2 separate regions of the Homo sapiens genome follow, and region 1 is linked to region 2. Evidence: promoter capture Hi-C in 16 types of primary human blood cells and fetal thymus (Javierre and others, 2016). All regions are on one chromosome and are shown on one strand. Each heading gives the region's core, a stretch centred on a gene start or on the middle of the fragment in contact. The rest is flanking DNA. Distances are from core to core; before and after follow the strand shown. Region 1 overlaps WDTC1 (WD and tetratricopeptide repeats 1). Region 2 holds the start of TENT5B (terminal nucleotidyltransferase 5B).

Region 1 (6,670 bases), core at 3,146-5,645, 280 kb before region 2:
CCTCTGTATCCAAAGCCCAGCACAGAGGCTGGCAGAGAAAAGAGGCAAGGATATGCTATAGGATGGGGAATAATATAATGCGGAGGCCCATTTGTATGCAGCCCCTTTTTGGAGACAGCTCAGTGCTAAGAGGCAGCTAGCTCCTGAGTCCTGACCCCAGTTACTGGTACCAACAGGCTAGAGCTACAGTCTGACCATGACTAGTGTTCTGCCAGGCAGAGGGGCACTGGAAACACTAGGCACCCTCCAAGAAGGCTCTTTGCCTTGGTCCTCACTCTCTGGGATGCATGAGTGGGTGTGGGTCAGGAGGAAGATTTACAGGTTATGTCCCTCCCTCCAGTCCATATAGTGTAACTGGGGCTTGGAGGGCTGGACAAGCCAGCTGGCCTCACCTGACATGTCCCCTACTCTCCGGCAGCCGGAAGCCATTGCTATGAAGGTGCAGGCCATTGGACACACCGTTGGACACACCGTTGGTGGACATCTTGCCATTCTGGACTTCTGGCAGGAGATAGTGAGAAAGTGACAGCAACAACTCAGGAAGAGGACCCATTTCTTCCTGGCAGCCCTCTAGCTTCCATCACGGGGTCTGATGGTTCCATCGTGGGACTGTTCTCCCAGAGTAAGATCCATTCCCAGAAAGCAAGTTCTGACATAAAGAAAAGCCCGTGCGCCCTCTGCTGGCTGGCGAGGGACACAACTTCACCGTGGCATTACTCAGCTGGGGCTGGGGCTGGGGCTAGGGCTGGGGCTGGGGCTAGGGTTGGGGCTGGGGCTAGGGCTGGGGCTGGGGGTGGGAATGGAGTGAGGAGGTGCCTAAATCAACTGTAGGCCCCAGGAAGAAATCAATGAGAAGACTGGGCCAGGATACAAAGGAGAGGGGAACTATTTCAGGTTCTCAAGAGCCAAGCCATGGAAGGAACCTGTCTTTTCAGAGGGAAGCAAAAAGGGCAGTGATGCAAAGCTCTTGAAGAGATCTCTGCTCTATTGTCATCCTCTTTCTTACTGCATAGGTGGGGTTATTTCAGAGATCTGCTATTTTTGGAGGATCACGGTCCAGAGTAAAGGGCAGGCTTCTCAGCAGGTGTAGCATGCACTTAAGCTCCCCTACACCGCCGCAGTAGAGATACCCTAAGGGAGAACTTACCCCCCGAGGAGTGGCATTTTCTAGGCAAGAGGAAGGTGTACGGCCGCTGCTTGTAAGTCAAGTCAAACAAATAGACCTAGAGTTGAGGGGGGCAAAAAAAGAGATGGAAGCTGTGAGGTAAGGATGTGGTTGAACCAGTAAGCAGGTCTTGGTTTCTCAAGAACTAGAGTCTTGGAACACAGTGAGTGTTGAGCATAGAACAATCAAGCTATCCTAAGAGGTACTTCCAGCAAACCTCAGGCTGGAAAATCTTCCTAGCTCTAGCATTCAGGGTGGGCTATCTGATCTACCCAAAGTCCTGCTTGAAATACTATCATTAATTAGAATCACATTTGGCTGGGCATGGTGGCGTAGCCTGTAATCCTAGCACTTTAGGAGGCTGAGGCAGGAGGGTGGTTGCTTGAGCCCAGGAGTTTGAGACCAGCTTGGGCAACATGGCAAAACCCCGTCTTTACAAGAAATACAAAAACTAGCCAGGTGTGGTGGCGTGTGCCTGTGGTCCCAGCTACTCAGGAGGCTGAGGTGGGGGAATCACTTGAGCCTGGGATGTCGAGGCTGCAGTGACCTGAGATTGTACCACTGCACTCCAGCCTGGGTGACAGAATGAGACCCTGCCTCAAAACAAACAAACAAACAAACAAAATAGAAGGTCAGGTGCAGTGGTTAATGCCTGTAATCCCAGCATTTGGGAGGGTGAGGTGGGCGGATCACCTGAGGTCAGGAGTTCGAGACTAGCCTGACCAACATCGTGAAACCCCATCTCTACTAAAAATACAAAATTAGCCAGGCGTGGCATGTGCCTGTAATCCCAGCTACTTGGAAGGCTGAGGCAGGAGAATTGCTTAAATCCAGGAGGCAGAGCGGAGGTTGCAGTGAGCCGAGATCGCACCATTGCCCTCCAGCCTGGGCAACAAGAGCGAAACTCCAACTCAAAAAAAAAAAACAAAAAACACGTCACATGTTTAAAAAGATGAAGAAGTCCTCAAAGGTCACAAAGCCAAATGTTTACCCTAGCACTACTCCTGAGCTTTTCATGATTCCTTGGACAGGTCCAGGAATGTCTGGCTTATCCTCACCTATTCTGCATCCCGCTTCATTTGTATATATTTGGGCCTTGCCTTGTAATGTCATTAACTGTTTCGTTTGTCATGTCTCCCATCAGCCTGGGGATGGATCATATTTCCCACTTGTCTCTATTATATTTATAATAATGCGAGTCCCAGAGTAAGTGCTCAGTGTTGGTAGAGTAAATAAATGTATGCAAGGCTTACTAAATATCCTGAGAGCACACAAACAGAAGGTTTAGCAACCTGCCATTATCAAAGAACACTTCCCAAAGCTGGCACTAACCCACAGCTTGCTCTGAGCTGCATGCTCTGAGCCCCAGGGATTTCCTCCTAGGAAAATAGCAGACGAGGAAACTGAGGCTCAGAAAAATAAAGAGACTTGCTCAAAGTCACAGTAAACAGCTGCTGAACAGCAGGCCAGCATTTGAACAGAAGTCTGTCCATTCCAAAGCCTATATTCTTAACCAAAATGCCATACTATCATATTTCTATCTAGTTCATTAAGAAAAAATGAAATAAAAAGACTGAGCTAGGACATCTCTCTGGGAACTCCAATGATGCCACATCACCCCCACATTTCAATGTAACATCATTTACCATAAGGCTGTTGTGTCTTGTCTGCCTCAGCAGTGAACATAAGGTACATGCCCCTGGCTGCTGGGCATGGAATGGTGATGGGGCAGAACCACCTTATGCTGTACATACCTGTTCCCCCCCCATGTTGACTAGTAGCTCTGTGCCATTGGGGCTGAAGGTCACATAGGTGGCAACCAGCACTCTCAAACGGTTGTTGTAGTCAGGAAGCTTCACTGGCAGGTGACCTGCAGGGAATAGCCCAGTCATACTAGGGTCCCAGTCCCTTTCAAAGGGGCATGAGATTGTGTGAAGTCAGTCATATCAAAAATTATACCAATCAACTTTAGCATAAAAGCAGCTACAAGTGTTGAGCCCTTACTATATGCACTGGGCTAGTTGCTTTATATATTTTATCTCATTTAGTCATTATAACCCCATTTTACTTAACCTTGATGAGTTTCTTTTCTGTAATTTGCTGAAGGTGACATAGCTTGTCAATGGCAGAGTTGGGATTAAAACTCAGGTCTGTCTGACTCTAAAACCCTTGCTCTTGACCACCATGCCATGCTGTCTCCCTGGACTGCCCCCAAAAGAGTCAGCATCTAGCCGAGAGTTTGGGGCCAGAGCTGTGCTGAGCGCTACCTGCTACGTAATACTGGGCTGCACCGTCCGGAAGGGGTTTCTGCCGGTCACAGAAGGTGTGCACACCCGCTGAAGGGCTCTGCTTCATGCTCTTTCTGGTGGGAAGGAAAATCATATAGGTTAAAGTTACAGCACTGCCCCTGGCTAGACCAGACCACACTCACTAGACGAAAACTTACATTTGTATCTGAGACATACAGGAGGTATTTTTCCTCCTTACCTAAGCAACCCCAAAGGCCCACCAACTAGACAATTACAGACATATACATTACAGTGCTTTACCAGGTAGGTCCTATAAGCTGTCTGGGTCTTCATGACCATCTTATTTTTCCCATTTTACAAACAAGCAAGCTAAGGTTCAAGACCCGCTCCAAGCCATGCAGTGTGTGAGGGGCAGCAGTGGTCACCAAGCCCATGAATGAAAATAAACAGGCGACATTCCTGCATCCATCCCAAGAATCATGGAAAGCCCAGGCTGGAGAGGCAACTCAGGTCTGAGAGTGCTGTGGGGGTTCTGAGTGTTATAAGAACTAGCAGGAAATATTATATACAGTGATTTCTTTAAGAAAGACACTATAAGAGATTTATATAAGAAATTATAAGAATAAATAAATATAAGGAAATCATAAGGAATTTATGTAAGAGATTATGGGTAATTTATACTTTTTTTTTTTTTTTTTTAATTGAGACTGAGTCTCACTCTGCCACCCAGGCTGGAGTGCAGTGGCAGGATCTCTGCTCACTGCAAGCTCCGCCTCCCAGGTTGACGCCATTCTCCTGCCTCAGCCTCCCCAGTAGCTGGGACTACAGGCACCCGCCACCACGCCCGGCTAATTTTTTGTATTTTTAGTAGAGACGGGGTTTCACCGTGTTAGCCAGGATGGTCTCGATCTCCTGACCTCGTGATCCGCCTGCCTCGGCCTCCCAAAGTGCTGGGATTACAGGCGTGAGCCACCACGCCCGGCCTAATTTATACTTTTCATATTTTCCAACATAAGCGAGGATTAAGTTTTTTAAAAAATCACAAAATTGAAGAAAGTCCATTTCATAAAGAAGAAGGGGCCAGGCTGGGTGTGGTGGCTGACGTCTGTAATCCCAACACTTTGGGAGGCCGAGGCGGGCAGATCACCTGAGGTCAGGAGTTCAAGACTAGCCTGGTCAACATGGTGAAACCCCGTCTCTACTAATAATACAAAAATTAGCCAGGTGTGGTGGCAGGTGCCTGTAATCCCAGCTACTCGGCAGGACAACAGCTTGAACCCGGGAGGCAGAGGTTGCAGTGAGCTGAGATTGTGCCACTGCGCTCCAACACGGGTGACAGAGCAAGACTCTGTCTCAAAAAAAAAAAAAAAAAAAAAAGTAAAACAATAAATAAATAAATAAAAGAAGGGGCCAGGCACAGTGGCTCATGCTTGTAGTCCCAGCACTTTGGGAGGTCGAGGTGGAAAGATTGCTTTAGCTCGAGTTTGAGACCAGCCTGGGCAACAAGGAAAGACCCCGCCCCTATAAAAAAATTAAAAAATTAGCCAAGCGAGGTGGCGTGTGACTGTAGTCTCAGCTACTTGAGAGGCTGAGATGGGAGGATCGCTTGAGCCTGGGAGGTTGAGGCTGCAGTGAGCTGTGATAGAAGAAGAGGGCATGGCAATGGCAGTGAGGGAAAGGGGCAGTAGGTTCTCTGGGGACTTACTCACAGGAGACAGGAGGCTGAACTATTCATACCTGTGGTTATGGATCATGCGGATGTCATAGAGCCTCACGAAGGGCCCGCTGGCCCCAACTGCCAGGCAGTTGTTGTCCTGGGGGTTGACAGTGAGGCACTTGGCCTCCACCAGCTGGCCACAGTACTCTGTCAGGTCAATCAGCACCTCCGAGTGTTTGCTGTTCTCTCGAAGGTCATACTGGCTGTGAGAGAGGACAGAGTTAGGGAATTGGGGCTTGGGGTCCTTGAGAGGAAGGCAGGGGAAAAGATAAGTTCTTGTTATGCAAGAGGATTGGGAGGGACTTTGGACCTGTTTCTAAATAAGAATGTCAAAAACAACTCCCATTTCTTGAGTGTCCACAGTGTGCCAGGTACCTGTAGTAGGCTTCTCACACATTCTATTCTACTAGAACTCCTAAGGTGGATACTATTGTACATATTCTACAGATGTTAGTATTATTGCTACTATTATACTACTACTGATTACCAACACTTAGTGAAAATGTGCTTTATGTCCAGTATTGCCCCTTAATTAATTCCTAACGCCATCCCTAGGTATCATTAGAATACTGAAGTTCAAAGATGTTGAATAACCTGACTGAGATGACACTGCTAGTAAGTGCAGAGCTGGGGAAGCTTTCTGAGACTGCATCTTAAACACTGCTCCGTTCCTACCTAATCTAGTTTCTTTCATGAAACAAGGTATGGAGGTGACAGAAAAGAGACTCTGCAGATCATCTAAGAGCTATCTAGATATACCATGGGCCAAGGCAAGCCTAAAAGTCTCATCCACGCAGTAAAGGTAATGCCAAAAAGTCTACCAAACAGCAGCAAACTCCCACCGCTCCAGACGGGGAAACTTTGTGCTGCCAATACACAGGTATCCTCAGAGAGTGGTGGGTAGGGGGGACATCACCTATATGCTCTCCCCTCTTGCCTAGACATCTGTTATCACCTCTTTGCTGTTCACCTTGTCTTTCTAAGCCATCTTCACCAGGCTGCTCTTCCTAAAATATTATTTTACATCACTCTCCTGCTCAAAAAAATTGCAGAGATTCCTCAATACTTTTAGCACAAGTTTACTTTTACCAAACTCCTCAGTCTGGTTTTCAAGACTCAATTTCACATTTCTCTCCAACCTTATTCCTCAGTTTTCTAAATGTGGGTCAATTATAACTACAGAATTCTTTATCCTGCACATGCCATGTTTATTTCTGCCTTTGCAAACTCTGCTCAAGCTGGGGAATACACTCTGCTTTTCCTTGCTCATCCAAATCCTGTCTGTTCTGGAAGGCCCAGCTTATGTTCACCTTCTGCTAGGACACCTTCTCTGACTGTGCCTATGCCTAAACACTTAGGATCCTACCCAATGCGCTAGACGCTCCGCTTCTACCAGCTGGCCCTGGCAAAATCTGGTCAGCCAAGGTCAAAAAGTGCTACACAGAGTTGGACCTGCCACTGACAAAGTGCATTCTGTCTTCTGAGGTTCAGGGATGCAGTGACTTACCCCAGTCAAATACTGAGTGCGATTGCTAGGAT
Region 2 (7,126 bases), core at 4,594-7,093:
CAACGTTCCCCTCCATTCACTGGAACAATTAAAAGCTGGTCTTGGTGAAAATGAAAAATCTTACTGGATATACCCCTTCTCTCTCAGCTTCCTACATCCCCCATCATCTCCAGCCCCATCACAGTGTTGTTCAGGTCTTGTTCACATTGGGCAAACATTGAAACAATCAGCTTTGGGAATGAAAGTGTCAACAGAAAGGTGATTCACAAAGCATGAATTTGCTAATTGTTCTTTCTAGCTCAGATGGAAGTAAAGAGGGAGGGAAGAGAGAGGAAAAAGATCTCAGAGTTTCCTTCCTTAGAAAACTTGATTCTGCCAGGCGCAGTGGCTCAAGCCTGTAATCCCAGCACTTTGGGAGGCCAAGGCGGGTGGATCACGAGGTCAGGAGTTCGAGACAAGCCTGGCCAATATGGTGAAACCCCATTTCTACTAAAAAATATACAAAAATCATCTGGGCATGGTGGCATGCGCCTGTAGTCCCAGCTACTCAGAAGGCTGAGGCAGGAGAATCGCTTGAACCCGGGAGACTGAGTTGTAGTGAGCTGAGGTCGCACCACTGCACTCCAGCCTGGGCAACAGAGTGAGACTCGGTCTCAAAAAAAAAAAAAAAAAAAGAAAACTTGATTCAAGTGTTTAGGATGGGCATAGCACCAGCCAGTCACCGCAAGGCCCTGCCCCCTGCCTGGTTTCCAGCATAGCTACTCCCCCTGGGGTAAATCCCTCCTGCTTTCTGTACCCGTTTCCACATCTATAAAGTGAGAAGATTAACGGGCTGGGCGCGGTGGCTCATGCCTGTAATCCCAGCACTTTGGGAGGCCGAGGCGGGCGGATTGCCTGAGCTCAGCAGTTCAAGACCAGCCTGGCCAACATGGTGAAACCCCCACTCTACTAAAAATACAAAAAAAAAAAATTAGCCAGGCATGGTGGCGGGCACTTGTAATCCCAGCTACTCAGGAGGCTGAGGCAGGAGAATTCCTTGAAACCAGGAGGTAGAGCTTGCAGTGAACCAAGACTGTGCCGCTACACTCCAGCCTGGGTGACAGAGCAAGACTCTGTCTCAAAAAAAAAAAAGATTGACAAAGGCCCTCCTAGTTTTGGCCTTCAGGGTTCTAGGAATATGTGTCCTGGTAACTTCCCTGTTGCCCTGGCTGTCCAGGCACAGGGAGATGGGGCAGACTTGGATCCAACAGATCCAGTGGAAATGTCACCTCATTATTGGAGGACTTCCATAACCACATCATCTCATGATATCTCTAGTTCTCGCTCTTGCTGTATCTCTATCTCACACTCACATATGCACGGTTGTTCTCTCTCCCATGACCCTGTTTTATTTTCTTTTTAGCACTATCAGAAATGTCTTCTTTATTTGTTTACTTGACTGCTGTCTTTCGACATTAGAAAGTTCTAGGGCTGAGAGCGGTGGCTCACACCTGTAATCCTAGCACTTTGGGAGGCTGTGGCAGGTGGATCACTTGAGGTCAGGAGTTAGACTAGCTGGGGCAACATGGTGAAATCCAATCTCTAAAACAAAGAAAGGGAGAAAGAACGAAAGTTCTAGAAGGGCCGGGCATGGTATCTCATGCCTGTAATCCCAGCACTTTGGGAGGCCAAGGTGGGCAGATCTCTTGAGATCGGGAGTTCGAAACCAGCCTGGACAACATGGTGAAACCCTTTACTAAAAATACAAAAATTAGCCAGGTGTGGGCCTGTAATCCCAGGTACTTGGGAGGCTGAGGCAGGAGAATCATTTGAACCTGGGAGGTGGAGGTTGCAGTGAGCTGAGATTGTGCCACTGTGCTCCAGCCTGGCAACACAGTGAGGCTCTGTCTCAAAAAAAGAAAAAAGTTCTAGAAGGGCAGGGACCTTGCCTATTATTTCTCAGGGCCCAGCCCAGCACCTGGTACACAGATAGGTGCTCAGTATGTATGTTGGCTGATGAATGAATGAATGTATAGATCTTGTGGGTGGTGCCAGGACTGTGCCAAGCATGACTGATCTGTGCTGAGTCTTCTTAGAGGAGCAGTTGAACAATAGGGCTCTGGGGTCAGGAGACCTGGATTTGAGTTCCAAACTGCCAATTAGTGACTGTATAACCTTGGGCATATCACTTAACCTCTCTAAACCTCAGTGTCTTCATCTGTAAATTGGGGATAATGATCCCACATCTTGCGGTGTATCTTTAGGAATTAGAGCTTATGTATGTAAAATAATCTAGTGCATAGTAGGTGTTCAGTAAATGTTAGTTTCCTTTCCCCACACCTCCTTCCTCTGCTGGGGTATGGAGGTGGGGGTAAGAGACAGTGCTGTGGCTGAGCCTCAAGCTCTTTCATCAGTAGCCTCAGAGAGACTTGGTAGTTCAAGGGTTTGGAGACTCTGGACTCAGCCAAAGGCGATTTCTATCTATTTCTTTTCTTTTCTGAGACAGGGTCTCTTTTTGTCACCCAGGCTGGAGTGCAGTGGTGTAAACATGGCTCACTGCAGGCTTGACCTCCCCACCTCAAGCGATTCTCCCACTTCAGCCTCCCAACTAGCTGGGACCACAGGCACGTGCCACCATGCCAGGCTACTTTCTTTTAATTTTTGTAGAGATGAGGTCTCGCTATGAAGGCTGGTCTCAAACTCCTGGTCTCAGATGACTTTCCCACCTCAGCCTCCCAAAGTGCGGGGATTACAGGCATGAGCTACCACTTCCGGCTGCTATCTTTTTTTTTTTAATTTATTTTTATTTATTTATTTATTTTGAGATGGAGTCTTGCTCTGTCGCCCAGGCTGGAGTGCAGTGGCACGATCTCAGCTTACTGGAACTTCCGCCTCCTGGGTTCAAGCAATTCTCCTGCCTCAGCCTCCCAAGTAGCTGGGACTACAGGCACGTGCCACCACACCCGGCTAATTTTTTGTATTTTTAGTAGAGACAGGGTTTCACCATATTGGTCAGGCTGGTCTTGAACTCCTGACCTTATGATCCGCCTGCTTCAGCCTCCCAAAGTGGTGAGATTACAGGAGTGAACAACCGCACCTGGCCTTTTTAAAATTTTTATATAGAGATGAGGTCTCCCTATGTTTTTATGTAGAGATGAGGTCTCCCTGGTCTTACAGGCATGAACCACTGGTCCCCTCCATTTCTTAGCTTTCAAGAAAAGGTAAAACAAAGCAGGCACTTGCCTTGAGGATGATGAAAGGGACTTCCCCAAGGTCACGTGGTCAAGCAGTAGCACAAGTAGTGTGTCCCCTCCCTGAGGGCCAGAGGAAGCCCCTGATCCTAGACAAGATGGAGTGAAGCGAGATGGGCAGCCTCTTGCCTGGGCTCGCCTCCAGAAAGAGGAAGTGGCTGCTCTGTTGTGAGAGTCAGGCTCCTGGGTTTTAGTTCCAGGTCTGTCAGAGTCAACCTGATGGCATTGGGATGTAGTTTACTGTTTCTAGGTCATGATTTCTCCTGTAAATTTGGTGTATTACTCCTTCCCAACCTGCCTGACAGGCGAATGGGAGAATATTACGAGAATGAAATTTAATTTAATATATTGTTAGGAGAACTTTTTTTTGAGAGAGAGAGAGTATAACTATTGTTGCCTAGGCTGGAGTGCAATGGCACAGATCTCGGCTCACTGCAATCTCCGCCTCCCAGGTTCAAGCGATTCTCCTGCCTCAGCCTCCCGAGTAGTTGGGAATACAGGTGCTACAGGTGCCTACCACCACGCCCAGCTAATTTTTTGTATTTTTAGTAGAAATGGGGTTTCACCATGTTAGCCAGGCTGGTCTCAAACTCTTGACCTCAGGTGATCTGCCTGCCTCAGCCTCCCAAAGTGCTGGGATTACAGGCGTGAGCCACCGTGCCTGGTCAGGAGAACAATATTTAAGAAAAAAAATTGCAGCAATGAATCAGATAGACTCAATTTCTGAATTTTTGCTACAGCACATGTTTAAAATCAGAAAAAAAAATTAAAAGCAACAGGTGAGGTTGGGGAAAAATAAAAGTAATAACAGGCCAGGCACAGTAGTTGACACCTGTAATCCCTGCACTTCAGGAGGCTGAAGTGGGCAGATCACTTGAGCCCAGGAGTTCAAGACCAGCCTGGGCAACATGGCCAGACCCTTATCTCTACAAAAAAAAAAAAAAAAACAGAAAAATTAGCTGGGTGCTGTGGCGTGTGCCTGTAGTCCTAGCTACTCAGGAGGCTGGGATTGGGAGGATTGCTTGAGCCAGGGTGGTTGAGGCTGTGGTGAGCCATGATCATGACAGTCAACTCCAGTCCAGGCAACAGAGTGAGACCCTCTCTCAAAAAATAAATAAATAGATAAAAATAAAAAATAAAAGTAACGACAATCATAAGCCTCATCCCCTAGGTCCTGTAAAGTGTGAGAGCAAAACATGTAAACATATTTTTTTTAAATTATGTTTTGTCTAGACCTGCAGAAAAACATGTAAACACATTATTCGTTCTCTAGCTCCAGAAAGGAGCTGGGTCTGCATAGGTACAGTGGAAAAAACATGCACCACAGATTCTATAGCCCTGGTTGAGGACCAGGGCCTTACTAGTTTGCTGTGTGACAGTCGGGTAATCACAAAGCCTCTCTGAGCAGATCTCTCCTTCCCTAAATTGGCTATGCTGTACATCAACGCTCATCATGCTGTGGTTTGCGAGGCCAATCAACAGTGTCTTAGAAAGCCTTTACTTTAGGGCCGGGCACAGTGGCTCACGCCTGTAATCCCAGCACTTTGGGGGTCGAGGTGGGTGGATCACAAGGTCAGGAGTTCAAGACCAGCCTGGCCAATATGGTGAAACCCCCGTGTCTACTAAAAACACAAAAAAATTAGCCGGGCTTGGTGGCGCATGCCTGTAATCCCAGCTAATCGGGAGGCTGAGGCAGGAGAATTGCTTGAACCCGGGAGGCGGAGCTTGCGGTAAGCCAAGATCGCGCCACTACACTCCAGCCTGGGTGACAAAGCGAGACTCTGTCTCGAGAAAAAAAAAAAAAAAAAAAAAAAAAAAGGCCTTTACCTTGGTATGCAGAGTTTATTATTATTATTAATTTTTTTTTTTTTGAGGCGGAGTCTCGCTCTGTCGCCCAGGCTGGGGTGCAGTGGCGCAATCTCGGCTCACTGCAAGCTCCGCCTCCCGGGTTCACGCCATTCTCCTGCCTCAGCCTCCCGAGTAGCTGGGACTACAGGCGCCCGCCACACACCCGGCTAATTTTTTGTATTTTTAGTAAAGACGGGGTTTCACCGTGTTAGCCAGGATGGTCTCGATCTCCTGACCTTGTCATCCGCCCACCTCGGCCTCCCAAAGTGCTGGGATTACAGGCGTGAGCCACCGCGCCGGGCCCAGAGTTGTTTATTATACCTTTCCTAGGCTCTGGAAAACTGCCAGAGCATGAGCAGTGCTGTGCAGAGTTGATCACGTGGCTCAATCTCTTTGGGCTTCTGAAAATAGCAGGACAAGGCTAGGTGACTTCTCAATTTCTTCCAGCGCTAAAAAAAAAAAACAGAAACCTGGAATTTCTCAGTGGTCTGACTCTGCTACAAACTCCGCAGGTCACTTCCCTCCCTCCTGACCCTGGCGGGGCGGGGTGGGCGCTGTCCCTTTAAGTCCAGGCCCGGGCCAATCACAGTGAACAGAAGTTCTTTAAGGACCAAAGGAGGGAATTCAGCCTGAGAAGGAGGGCGGGGCAGGGGCGTGCCCTCTAGCCAATCGGAATCTCCCTAGAGAACAGTGACTCACGTGCAAAGCTCTACAGACCAGTGTCCGGAGCGTTCAGAGGCGGGGCGGCTCTCGCTGTTGGCAGCGGCCCGGACCAATGGGCACGTCGCCCGCGGCCTATAAGAGTCCGCTGGGCCGCGGGCTGCAGGCGCTAGGGTCGGTTAGTCGTCGCCGTCTGAGGTGTTCCCTGGCTTTGTCTCGCCGTCGTTGCCGCCCCGTCCCTGCCTTCGTGCCCCCCGCCTTGGCCCCTGCCCAGCCGCTCTCCCTGTCCTCCTCCCCTTAACCACCCCCACGGTTTCTGCCGTCGGGGCCCGGGGGCCGGGCGGATGATGCCGTCGGAGAGCGGAGCTGAGCGCAGGGACCGGGCGGCTGCTCAGGTGGGGACGGCTGCGGCCACGGCGGTGGCCACGGCAGCCCCGGCAGGCGGCGGCCCCGACCCGGAGGCCTTATCGGCCTTCCCCGGACGGCACCTGAGTGGGCTGAGCTGGCCACAGGTGAAGCGACTGGACGCTCTTCTGAGCGAGCCGATTCCCATTCACGGGCGCGGCAACTTCCCCACGCTGAGCGTGCAGCCCCGGCAGATCGTGCAGGTGAGAGGACGCCAGGCGGGGGATGTGGGGGAATCCCTTCTGAGGCTCTCGTGGCTGGAAGGCATTTGTAGTCTGTTTGACTTTCTAGACAGCTAGGGAAACTGAGGAACGGGGACATGGCTGTAACAATTGCACAGCATTATGAATGGTAGACCAGACCTCCCCCTGCATCTACTAATCCTTCCCCACCTGGCTTTTCCATCTCGACTCTTGGAGAACCCTGATTCCCCACGGATCACTCACCCAGGGCCTGGCTGGGAGAGGGGAGGAGGATGTCAAGGGCATTGGGGGAAGAATTTGTCTCTGCCTGCAAGGACAAAAGACGCCAGGTGGCCCTGGGTGGGTAAGTGTGCATGCTTGAGTCCAAAATAGCTTTTCCTTCCCTATCTGGGCATCCCTGGACCTCACCCTCCTTTCCTCTCTCGAGGTTCTAGGAGCAGCCTCTGCCATTGTGCTCCTACAGCCTTTTGCTGGAGAAACCCCCCCTTCCCCCTCCACCCCGTGGAAAAGCCAAGAAAACTTGTCAGGGACTCCCTCTCTCTCAGCTGGGGTTGTGGCCCAATATTTATTAAGCCGAAGGTCAGACCTGATACCCCACCCCCAAGGGCAACATTAAGTGACCAATTTAGGTGTTTCTTCTCCTTCCCAAGATTGGAAATGAAGGCCAACCCAGGCCTCAGGCCCCACGTCCTCTCTCTCCTGAGGAAAGGGAGAAGAGAATTCTGACAGCCCCTCCCTCCTCCAACTCTTCCCTTTATCTGAACCTCAACGACCCCAAGACTGCTTTTTCATCTGTACAGCCCAGACGCTGTCATGTTCTGAAATACCACAGTGTGGTCA

The links. The method cuts DNA at HindIII sites, captures the fragments that hold promoters and counts their contacts. A CHiCAGO score of 5 or more calls a contact.
Region 1: a contact is called between a fragment that was not itself captured here and the fragment with the promoter of TENT5B in region 2, in 2 of 17 cell types (M0 macrophages and endothelial precursors). The highest score is 7.9, in M0 macrophages.

The regions. Positions count from the first base shown.
Region 1 is chr1:27,290,879-27,297,548 of GRCh38, reverse strand. It overlaps WDTC1 (WD and tetratricopeptide repeats 1), which reads right to left. Exons shown (of 16, transcript NM_001276252.2): 7 at 5,152-5,334; 8 at 3,433-3,527; 9 at 2,920-3,035; 10 at 1,148-1,223; 11 at 393-501. Among named protein-coding and RNA genes, the nearest start is that of TMEM222, 28 kb to the left of the region's middle. The HindIII fragment of the contact is 2,749 bases long and covers 3,021-5,769 here.
Region 2 is chr1:27,011,567-27,018,692 of GRCh38, reverse strand. It overlaps TENT5B (terminal nucleotidyltransferase 5B), which reads left to right and starts at 5,843. Exons shown (of 2, transcript NM_052943.4): 1 at 5,843-6,286. The coding sequence starts at 6,023. RefSeq lists enhancers at 5,289-5,943, 5,944-6,597. The HindIII fragment of the contact is 29,862 bases long and covers 1-7,126 here.